3 separate regions of the Homo sapiens genome follow, and all the other regions are linked to region 2. Evidence: promoter capture Hi-C in 16 types of primary human blood cells and fetal thymus (Javierre and others, 2016). All regions are on one chromosome and are shown on one strand. The core of a region is centred on a gene start or on the middle of the fragment in contact, and the rest is flanking DNA. Distances in the headings are between cores, read along the strand shown.

Region 1 (2,700 bases), core at 14-2,513, 320 kb before region 2:
ATTTTGTACTCATTAACCAGCTTCTCTTCATCGCTCCTTCCCCTTCCTGGTAACTGCCGGCTGCGGGTGTCCACCATTCTACTCTCTACCTCCATGAGACCCACTGCTTTAGCTCCCCTACATGAGTGAGAACATGGGATCTTCGCCTTTCTGTGCCTGGCTTACTTCGCTTAATATAATGATCTCCAATGCCATCTATGTTGCTACAGTTTTCTTATAAAATATGTTGCTGTGGTTTTCTTATAAAAAGAAAATTATTACTATTTAGGGAATTGTTCACAAGCAGGAGGCAGAGTTTGAGGAGACGCGTGTGTGCGTGCGCACACACACGCGCGCACACACACACACACACAGACTGCTTGCCACAATGCTTCAACTAAAAATAATCCCACTGTCGGATCTGCCCAGCCCCAGGGGGCGAAGCCCAGTAATGGGAGTGTGGTTTTCCCCAGTGGATTGTTTTCTACCCAACCCTAGAGGGCGGGGAGCCTGGGTCAGGACGTTTCCTAATACTCTGCTGAAATCCGGGAGCACGCAAGAAAGAAACCTGAATTTCTAGAACTTAGTGCAATTTTGAAATCAAATCTTGCCTGGCAAGAAAACCTACTGTTCTGGAAAAATAAGTTTACTCTGAAAAGCTGGTCTCAAGCCTTGACTTTTAAAGCACATTAAAGCTCATTAGCCACTATGTCGAGGCCTTATCTAATCTCTGGAACTTAAAACCGGAGATCACAGTAGCTGGTGGGAGCCATGGGAATGATTTATAGAGTTACGAAGTTTAAATGGGGTTTCCTTACACAAAGTCAGAACAATCTGCAATAGCTGAAATCGAGAAGTTAAATGGATATTGTCTATGTAGATGATCAGAATTTGCATCTCAACTATATCTTTAAAATGGAGAGAATGCTAATCATTTTGAAAAGGACCTTCAGACACTGTCAGTAATTACAGGAAGTAGCGTTCTTTTGGAAATTTATTTGTTTTCTTAAAGGATTGTTGGACTTTCAGTCTTGGTTCACTGAGACTCAGAATATTTCTTCTTTTGGTAGAGATGGGTGTGGGGGTGGGGGGTTCAGGCAGCATTGGACACATGGGATGGCCAGCCCTGAGAATATTCGGGAATGTGCGAGGAAACTGGAGTTACACTTTTTCTGTTGTATGTGTTTTTTCTTTTTCCTTTCGAGATGGAGTCGCACCTTTGTCACCCAGGCTGGAGTGCAGTGGTGCGATCTTGATTCACTGCAACCTCTGCTTCCCGGGTTAAAGCAATTCTCCTACCTCAGCCTCCCAAGTAGCTGGGATTATAGGCGCCCACCACCATGCCGGGCTAAGTTTTGTATTTTTAGTAGAGACGGGGTTTCATCATGTTGGCCAGGCTGGTCTTGAACTCCTGACCTCAGGTGATCTGCCCGCTTCGGCCTCCCAAAGTGCTGGAATTACAGGAGTGAGCCACCACGCATGGCCATACGTGTTTTTTTCTTTAAAAACTGTAAAATCAGGTTTACAAAGATATAATTTCCATACAAGAAAATTCACTCGTTTCAGGGTTCAGTGCTATGTGTCTGACAGATGCGTACAGTCACGTATGAAATCAGCGTCACAGCTGGGGTTCAGAGCATAGAGCCTCTCCTTCCCTTTGCAGCTAATTTCCTCCCACCGTTCCCCAGGCCTTGCCCACCACTGATCTGTTCTTTGTCCCTATAGTTTTGCCTTCTCCAGAATGTTATGTAAAATGGAATCATACATGATGCAGCCTTTTGAGTTTGGTTTCTTTCACAGAGTAAAATGAATTTGACGTGGCTTGTGTGGTTGTGTTGATTGGTAATTTGTTGCTGAGTGGTATGACATTACTAAGGTGCGTGGGACTCTGGATGGACTGGGGCAAGCCCACCTCACACACTCACGAGATCATCTGGAAGCACGAGCCTTCAGTTTTCACTTGCGAAGTGTGAAAACATTCTGTCCTAATGTTCTACTAGCTTCCTGCCACAGCCCTTACTTTTCTGATGGCTTGCTCTTGCTTTATTCAAATAGTGTGCTTACAGAACTGGGCACGAGGTCTTATTTCTGTGAAGCTGTATTTTTATTTATTTGCTTGGCTTTTTTTTTGTAGTATGTATAGCTTCAAAGATATAATATGAGCAAGTAATGAAAAATGTTATACATTCAAGAGACAGGCAAGTTTTTCTCTTAATCTGTAATTATGTATTTATCTTCTTCTGTGACCAAATAGGACTTGAAAAAATGCTAAGTCAAAACATAAGAAGGACAGTAAAATAAAGTCTTAGAAGAGGAGGGCATCCTCATTGCATTCAGTGTGCCTGCAGGTGAGGACTAAACATGGCCAGCATTGTGGGTCCCCGCAGCATCCACGAACGGCAGGTTATTGGCATGATTTGCGCTGGCAGGCCCTGCAGTGATGGACGAGGCAGTGACCTGCCTGTGTCTCAGACATCGTGGGACCTGCAGGAGCATTAGGAAAGTACTCCACCATGATTTGTTCTCTTTGGCCTCTACCTTGTGGGGTGGAGTATGAAGTTATGTGTGCTGGAGCAGAATGTTAGAAGGCAACAGGCTTTGATCTTTGCCAGGAAGCCTGGCTCAAGGTCAGCGTTAGCCTGAATTTCTACTTTACCTTTCAGTTTGGGCATTTTGGCTTTTCCCCCTTCACAACCACCTGCCAATGGAAGACGGTAATTT
Region 2 (2,731 bases), core at 226-2,725:
TGTGATCAACAAAAAAAAAAAAACTATTCCTGTGCTTCTCAGAGAAAATGTTTTAAATGAGAAAAATATTCAAGTATTTTAAGACCTTCAAAGGTAGCATTTTTCAATTAAAAATTAAAAACTAAGTCTCCGTAACTACTACCTACTCCATACATACACCGCAAAGTTCCCAAAGGGAGAAGATATTTTAGATGCGCCTTTAGGAGCTTAGTTTTTCCTCCTTGGGATAACTTTAAATTCAGATCTCAGCAGAACAAACGCATTTTTCAGGGCAAGCCAACTGCTAATCCGAGTAGATCTAAACGCTAACGAAGGCAGCCGACGGAAGCTGCTCCATGAAGACACGAAAACTATCAGACTTGCATTTTGCCACATTCCTGGAATAAACTTATTACTCATAAAGGTGATTTTGAAGCCATTTCAGCTTGTGGAATGATCACCGAAATGCAGTCCACCGATATTTGTTAATATCCCAGGCTGGTCAAACCCCACTCCAGACCTTGGGGGACGGGGAGGGGACCCGCGGCCTCTCTAGGCTGTGCCCAGACAGCAGACAAGGACGCGATGCCGCCCTCGGTCCGCGGCCTTCCGCGGTAGGCGTCCCTCTCAAGCGTGGTAAAACCACCCCGAAGGGAACAGAAAACGTTAAAATCTTCGTTGGGCGCCAGCAGGCAGGTTAGGCCTCGCCCTGGCATCTCGTCTCCAGGACCAGATGGAGCGAGTGACCCGCGGGGACACCTTCCCGGTCACCTCGAGCGCAATAAAACAAGTTCTTTTTTTAAAAATAAGCATCCGTGTGCCTGCCGGCTAAATTAAGTGTGTCTGAAGAGAAGCAGGATGGCGGCCGCTATTTATAACCTCCCGCCCCGCCCGGGCGCCACTCCTCGACAGCACCCACGCTGTGCCCGGCGGCGCTTCCGCGGGGACTTCCTGCTCGGTGGTCCCCGCCCCGCCCCGCGCCAGCCGTCCGGAACCCGCGTCCCCAGGCGGCTGCAGGCGGGCGAGACCTAGGTGCCCGACGCCCACGCGCCTCCGACCGTGGGAGCGCCCGGAGAGCAGCTACCTCGCCGGGCCTGCGAAGCCCAGGACAGGCGCGAGCGGGGCGCGGGCTGGCGCATCTGCGTGCGGTGGGCGCCCCGCAAGCGGGTCGGGCCCGCCCCAACAGCCCTCGGCTCTCCTCTCACGTCCCGCGCGGGCATGCCCCGGAGTGCGTAGGCGGCAGGGAAGAGCCCCCGCGTCCACATCCCCAGGGCCCGCGCAGGTGCGGGATGGGGATGCAGGCGCTAGGCATGGACGTGCGCGCGGGGTAGGGTGTGGAATGCGGACGCGGGCGAGTGCTGTGGCTGCGCGTACAGGGTAGGGATGCGGGGGCGGTAGGTGTGCGTGCTGGGAAGCGCGCGGGGCGGGGCTGTTCGGAGGCGGCGGGGGCGTGGCGCGGCGTCCTGAGCTGCAGCTTGGGGGCGTCGGGCGCAGCGCACACTGGGGCTGCAGGGATGGCGATCAGGGCGGGGAGGTCGGGCCCTGGCGCGGGGCGCACGCGTGAAGCAGCACCGCACGTGTGAAAGGAATTCTTTTCAGAGCGGCCGGGAGCCCTGCTCCGGAGGAACGCACCCGGGTCGCCGCCGCGGCAGAGCGGGGTAAGGCGGGCCGGGCGCCCCGGAGGCCAGGCACAGGGGCCGAGGGCAGCGCGGGGCGGGGACGGGCGGGTCGGCGGCGCAGCGGAGCTGCCGGGCGAGCCCAGCGGGCTGAGACTGCCGAGCTGGGAAGCCGAGCCCCGGCACGTGTGCGGCTCCCAGCCCCCTAGGATTCTTTCAGGATTCTTCAAAAAGTTGTGGGGAGCTCGGGAAATTTGTGAGAAACTTTTGGAATAATTGATCTTCCTCCTTTGCTCCTGGAGGTCTGGAGAGCAGCGCCTCGTTTGGCTTCCCTTGATGGACAGTCCAAGGCCGAGTTTAAGTTGTTTTCCTGGGGTTGTTTTCCCCCTCGGGTGGAGGAAGCCGGGCTGTCCCGGACCGTCAGGCTGTAGGGCTCCTAGCGATGCTGAAATGCTTGAAAACTCTAAGCAGATGTCACCGCGCCAGCTAACGGCGCGCACCCAGCCGTCCACGGGCATTCAGCATCGCCGTGCTCCTAAAAGTCCTGTTGGGATTGTTTAGAAACAAGGTTGGCTCGCCTACATTTTTTTCAGAAACTTTTTAAAACTTTTTATTTTTAAGAAACACTGTAGCTATTAATGCCACGACCAGATTTCTCGACCTGTATGTTTGTTATGATGTGTTCAACTATAAGGAATTTGCAGAGGAGTGGAAAAGCACTGTCCGAGCCCCTTCCCGTAGGAGACTTGAGAAAACAAACGGCAGTGACGCGGCTGCATTTGCTTTGTTGCCGACTCCACACTAGTGAGCAAAATTCATCCTACCATGTAGAGTTCTCGGTTCGTGAATATGTGACTGCAACTTTAGAACTCCAGTTTTTATTTTATCAAGATGTCTCCAAAACATGCCATTTAAAAATGATTCTATACAAACAGCTGACAAGCGAATTATGGGTCTCATCACCCAGGAATTAAAAACCATGGTGATTTATGATGTGCGCATCACTTCACTGGCGGTCCATCCATGTGCAAGACAAACATTAAAAGATTAAAGAGGAAAAAAGAGGGATTTATTTTCCGAATATCAGTGTGTTCAAAGTAAACATCAGCTAGTTTGGCACAGATTCCACCTGCTCA
Region 3 (2,725 bases), core at 110-2,609, 340 kb before region 2:
TGCGCCATCACACCCAGCTAATTTTTGTATTTTTTGGGTAGAGATGGGGTTTTGCCATGTTGTCCAGGCTGGTCTCTTTACTCCTGGGCTCAAGCAATCTACCCATCTTGTCTTCCCAAAGTGTTGCAATTACAGGCAAGAGCCACCATGCCCGGCTTAAATAATTCTAACATAACACATAAGCCTAATATGCCTAATATGTCTCTCTTGGACTTCAGGGAACCTAATAGCTGAAAAAGTTAGTTTAAGGTCAGAGAATTTAGAACTTGATATTTTGCTGTTGGGAAGTCTGTCAAATATCAAAGGTTTTAAGACACTTGATATCACAAAATAGGATCAGAAGTCACTATAAAACAGTCATTCATTTGGCCAAAATTATAATACAAAAACATTTTCTCTTTGATAGGAGACTGAGTTTCCTAAACATTAAGACCTAGTAAAGACAGCATGAGGCCAGCTAAATCTGTCTTTCTCCTTCCCTCTATTTGTTTTCTTCTGTGGTTTTACTGAAAAGGTAAATAAAAATCTCTTATCTCTTACATGAAAATTTTGTTCAAAAGAGAAAACCAAATTTTACCTTTGTATGGTATATTATTAATGTTAATGCTAATTTTAATAAAACATTATAAATAAATCTAATCAGTTTGACCATAAGGTGAGATTTCCATAAACTTTATAACCTTTTATAATTTTATATTAAAGAGCAGATCAATGCTCCAAGAAAACCCTGTTATTCCGACACACGGGCCTAGACACTGGCTTTCCATTAGGCAGTGTGTGTGTAGTGTGTATATGGTGTGTGTAGTGTGTATTGGTGTGCATAGTATGTATGTGGTGTGCGTAGTGTGTGTAAGTGGTGTGTATAGTGTGTGTATGAGGTATGTGCATGTGTGTGTAGTGTGTATATGGAGTGTGTGTAGTGTGTATGGTGGTGTGTGTGTAGTGTGTATATGGGGTGTGTGTAGTGTGTAGGGTGGCATGTATGTAGTGTGTATATGGGGTATGTGTAGTGTGTATGGTGGCGTGTGTATAGTGTGTATATGCGGTGTATGTAGTGTGTATGGTGGTGTATGTGTGGTGTGTATGTACTGTGTATATGGGGTGTGTGTAGTGTGTATGGTGTTGTGTGTATGTGTGGTGTGTGTGTAGTGTGTATAGGGTGTGTGTGTAGTTGTGTGTGTAGCTCTAGAGACAGAACTGTGACCAAAAGCATCAAAAATGTGATAAGTTCAATGCCAAAGTTATCAAAGTAAGACAACTAGTTTTCAATCCATCATTAAAAAATGGTAAATGAAAACATTAGTTTTGGAAATTCAATATGAGTATAAATCCTTATATTGTACTGTGTATATATGGTGTGTGTAGTTGTGTGTATGTGGTGTATGTATGGTGGTGTGTGTGTAGTATGTATATGTGGTGTGTGTAGTTGTGTGTATGGTGGTGTGTGTAGTGTGTATATGAGATGTGTGTGTAGTTGTATGTATGTGGTGTGTGTTTGTGTGGTGTGTGTAGGGCATATATGTGGTGTGTGTAGTTGTGTGTATGTGGAGTGTGGTGTGTAGTGTGTGTATGTGGTGGTGTAGTTGTGTGTATGTGGTATGTATGTAGTTGTGTGTGGTGTGTGTGGTGCATATATATGGTGTGTGTAGTGCCTATATGTGGTGTGTGTAGTTGTGTGTGTGTGGTGTGTGGTGTCTAGTGCGTATATGTGGTGTGTGCTGTGTGTAGTTGTGTGTGTGGTGGTGTGTGTGTAGTGTGTATATGTGGTGTGTGTAGTTGTGTGTATGGTGGTGTGTGTGTAGTTGTGTGTGTGGTGGTGTGTGTGTAGTGTGTATATGCGGTGTGTGTAGTTGTGTGTATGGTGGTGTGTGTGTAGTGTGTGTGGTGGTGTGTGTGTAGTGTGTATATGCGGTGTGTGTAGTTGTGTGTATGGTGGTGTGTGTGTAGTTGTGTGTATGTGGTGTGTGGGCACGCATGGCTCTCGCCTCTCAGGGTGTCCTCTATCTGAAGCCCCTGGTATCTGTAGCACCCCCCAACGGCCTCTTGTGTCTGGCCTATTGTGGTTGGATTTCTTTAGTAGTGGCACCGCTTTCAGTAAACTCTTGTCACCTCCCACTCCTCATTCACACTGTGTCCTCTTTGGTACCTGCAGATTCTGACCTTTTCCACGTCTCTCAGGAGCTATTGCGACTTGCTTTTCGTTGGCATTTTCCTTAACCCCATGCCTAAGTTTTAGCTTTCTCCACCTCATTCAATCATTTACCTGACTACTTTTGCATGATTTCCAATTTTCCAAAAAATTAGCATATTTTGTCCATTTTGTCTCCCAATAATCTCTGACCTTGTGGGCCTACACTTTTTTTTTTTTTTTTTGAGACGGGGTCTTGCTCTGGTGCCCGGGCTGGAGTGCAGTGGCATGATCTCTGCTCACTGCAGCCTCCACCTCGGGGGCTCAAGTGATCCTCCTACCTCAGCCTTTTTGCCATGTTGCCCAGGCTGGTCTCAAACTCCTGAGCACAAGAGATCTGATCTGCCTGCCTCGGCCTCCCAAAGTGTTGGGATTATGGGTGTAAGCCACCACACCAGGCACAGGTCTATGCTTTTAAAAAAAGATCCATTATTAGCCTGGTTTTACTAAGGTTTCTGGAGGGAGCAGAGATAAATAGATGTGCTTTATGTTACTGTGTGTAATTCAAAGTCCAGGACCTAGATTATTGCATGAATT

What was found. The method cuts DNA at HindIII sites, captures the fragments that hold promoters and counts their contacts. A CHiCAGO score of 5 or more calls a contact.
Region 1: a contact is called between a fragment that was not itself captured here and the fragment with the promoter of GJA3 in region 2, in 2 of 17 cell types (M2 macrophages and M0 macrophages). The highest score is 7.1, in M2 macrophages.
Region 3: a fragment that was not itself captured here is called in contact with the fragment with the promoter of GJA3 in region 2 in 2 of 17 cell types (M2 macrophages and M0 macrophages); the score reaches 5.5 in M2 macrophages.

Annotation. Positions count from the first base shown.
Region 1 is chr13:20,480,393-20,483,092 of GRCh38, reverse strand. The region is part of intron 3 of CRYL1 (crystallin lambda 1); the gene reads left to right. Among named protein-coding and RNA genes, the nearest start is that of CRYL1, 44 kb to the left of the region's middle. The HindIII fragment of the contact is 5,108 bases long and covers 1-2,700 here.
Region 2 is chr13:20,159,796-20,162,526 of GRCh38, reverse strand. It overlaps GJA3 (gap junction protein alpha 3), which reads left to right and starts at 1,475. Exons shown (of 2, transcript NM_021954.4): 1 at 1,475-1,637. RefSeq lists silencers at 825-1,184, 1,415-1,494, 1,655-1,744. The HindIII fragment of the contact is 22,819 bases long and covers 1-2,731 here.
Region 3 is chr13:20,496,493-20,499,217 of GRCh38, reverse strand. The region is part of intron 2 of CRYL1 (crystallin lambda 1); the gene reads left to right. Among named protein-coding and RNA genes, the nearest start is that of CRYL1, 28 kb to the left of the region's middle. The HindIII fragment of the contact is 5,408 bases long and covers 1-2,725 here.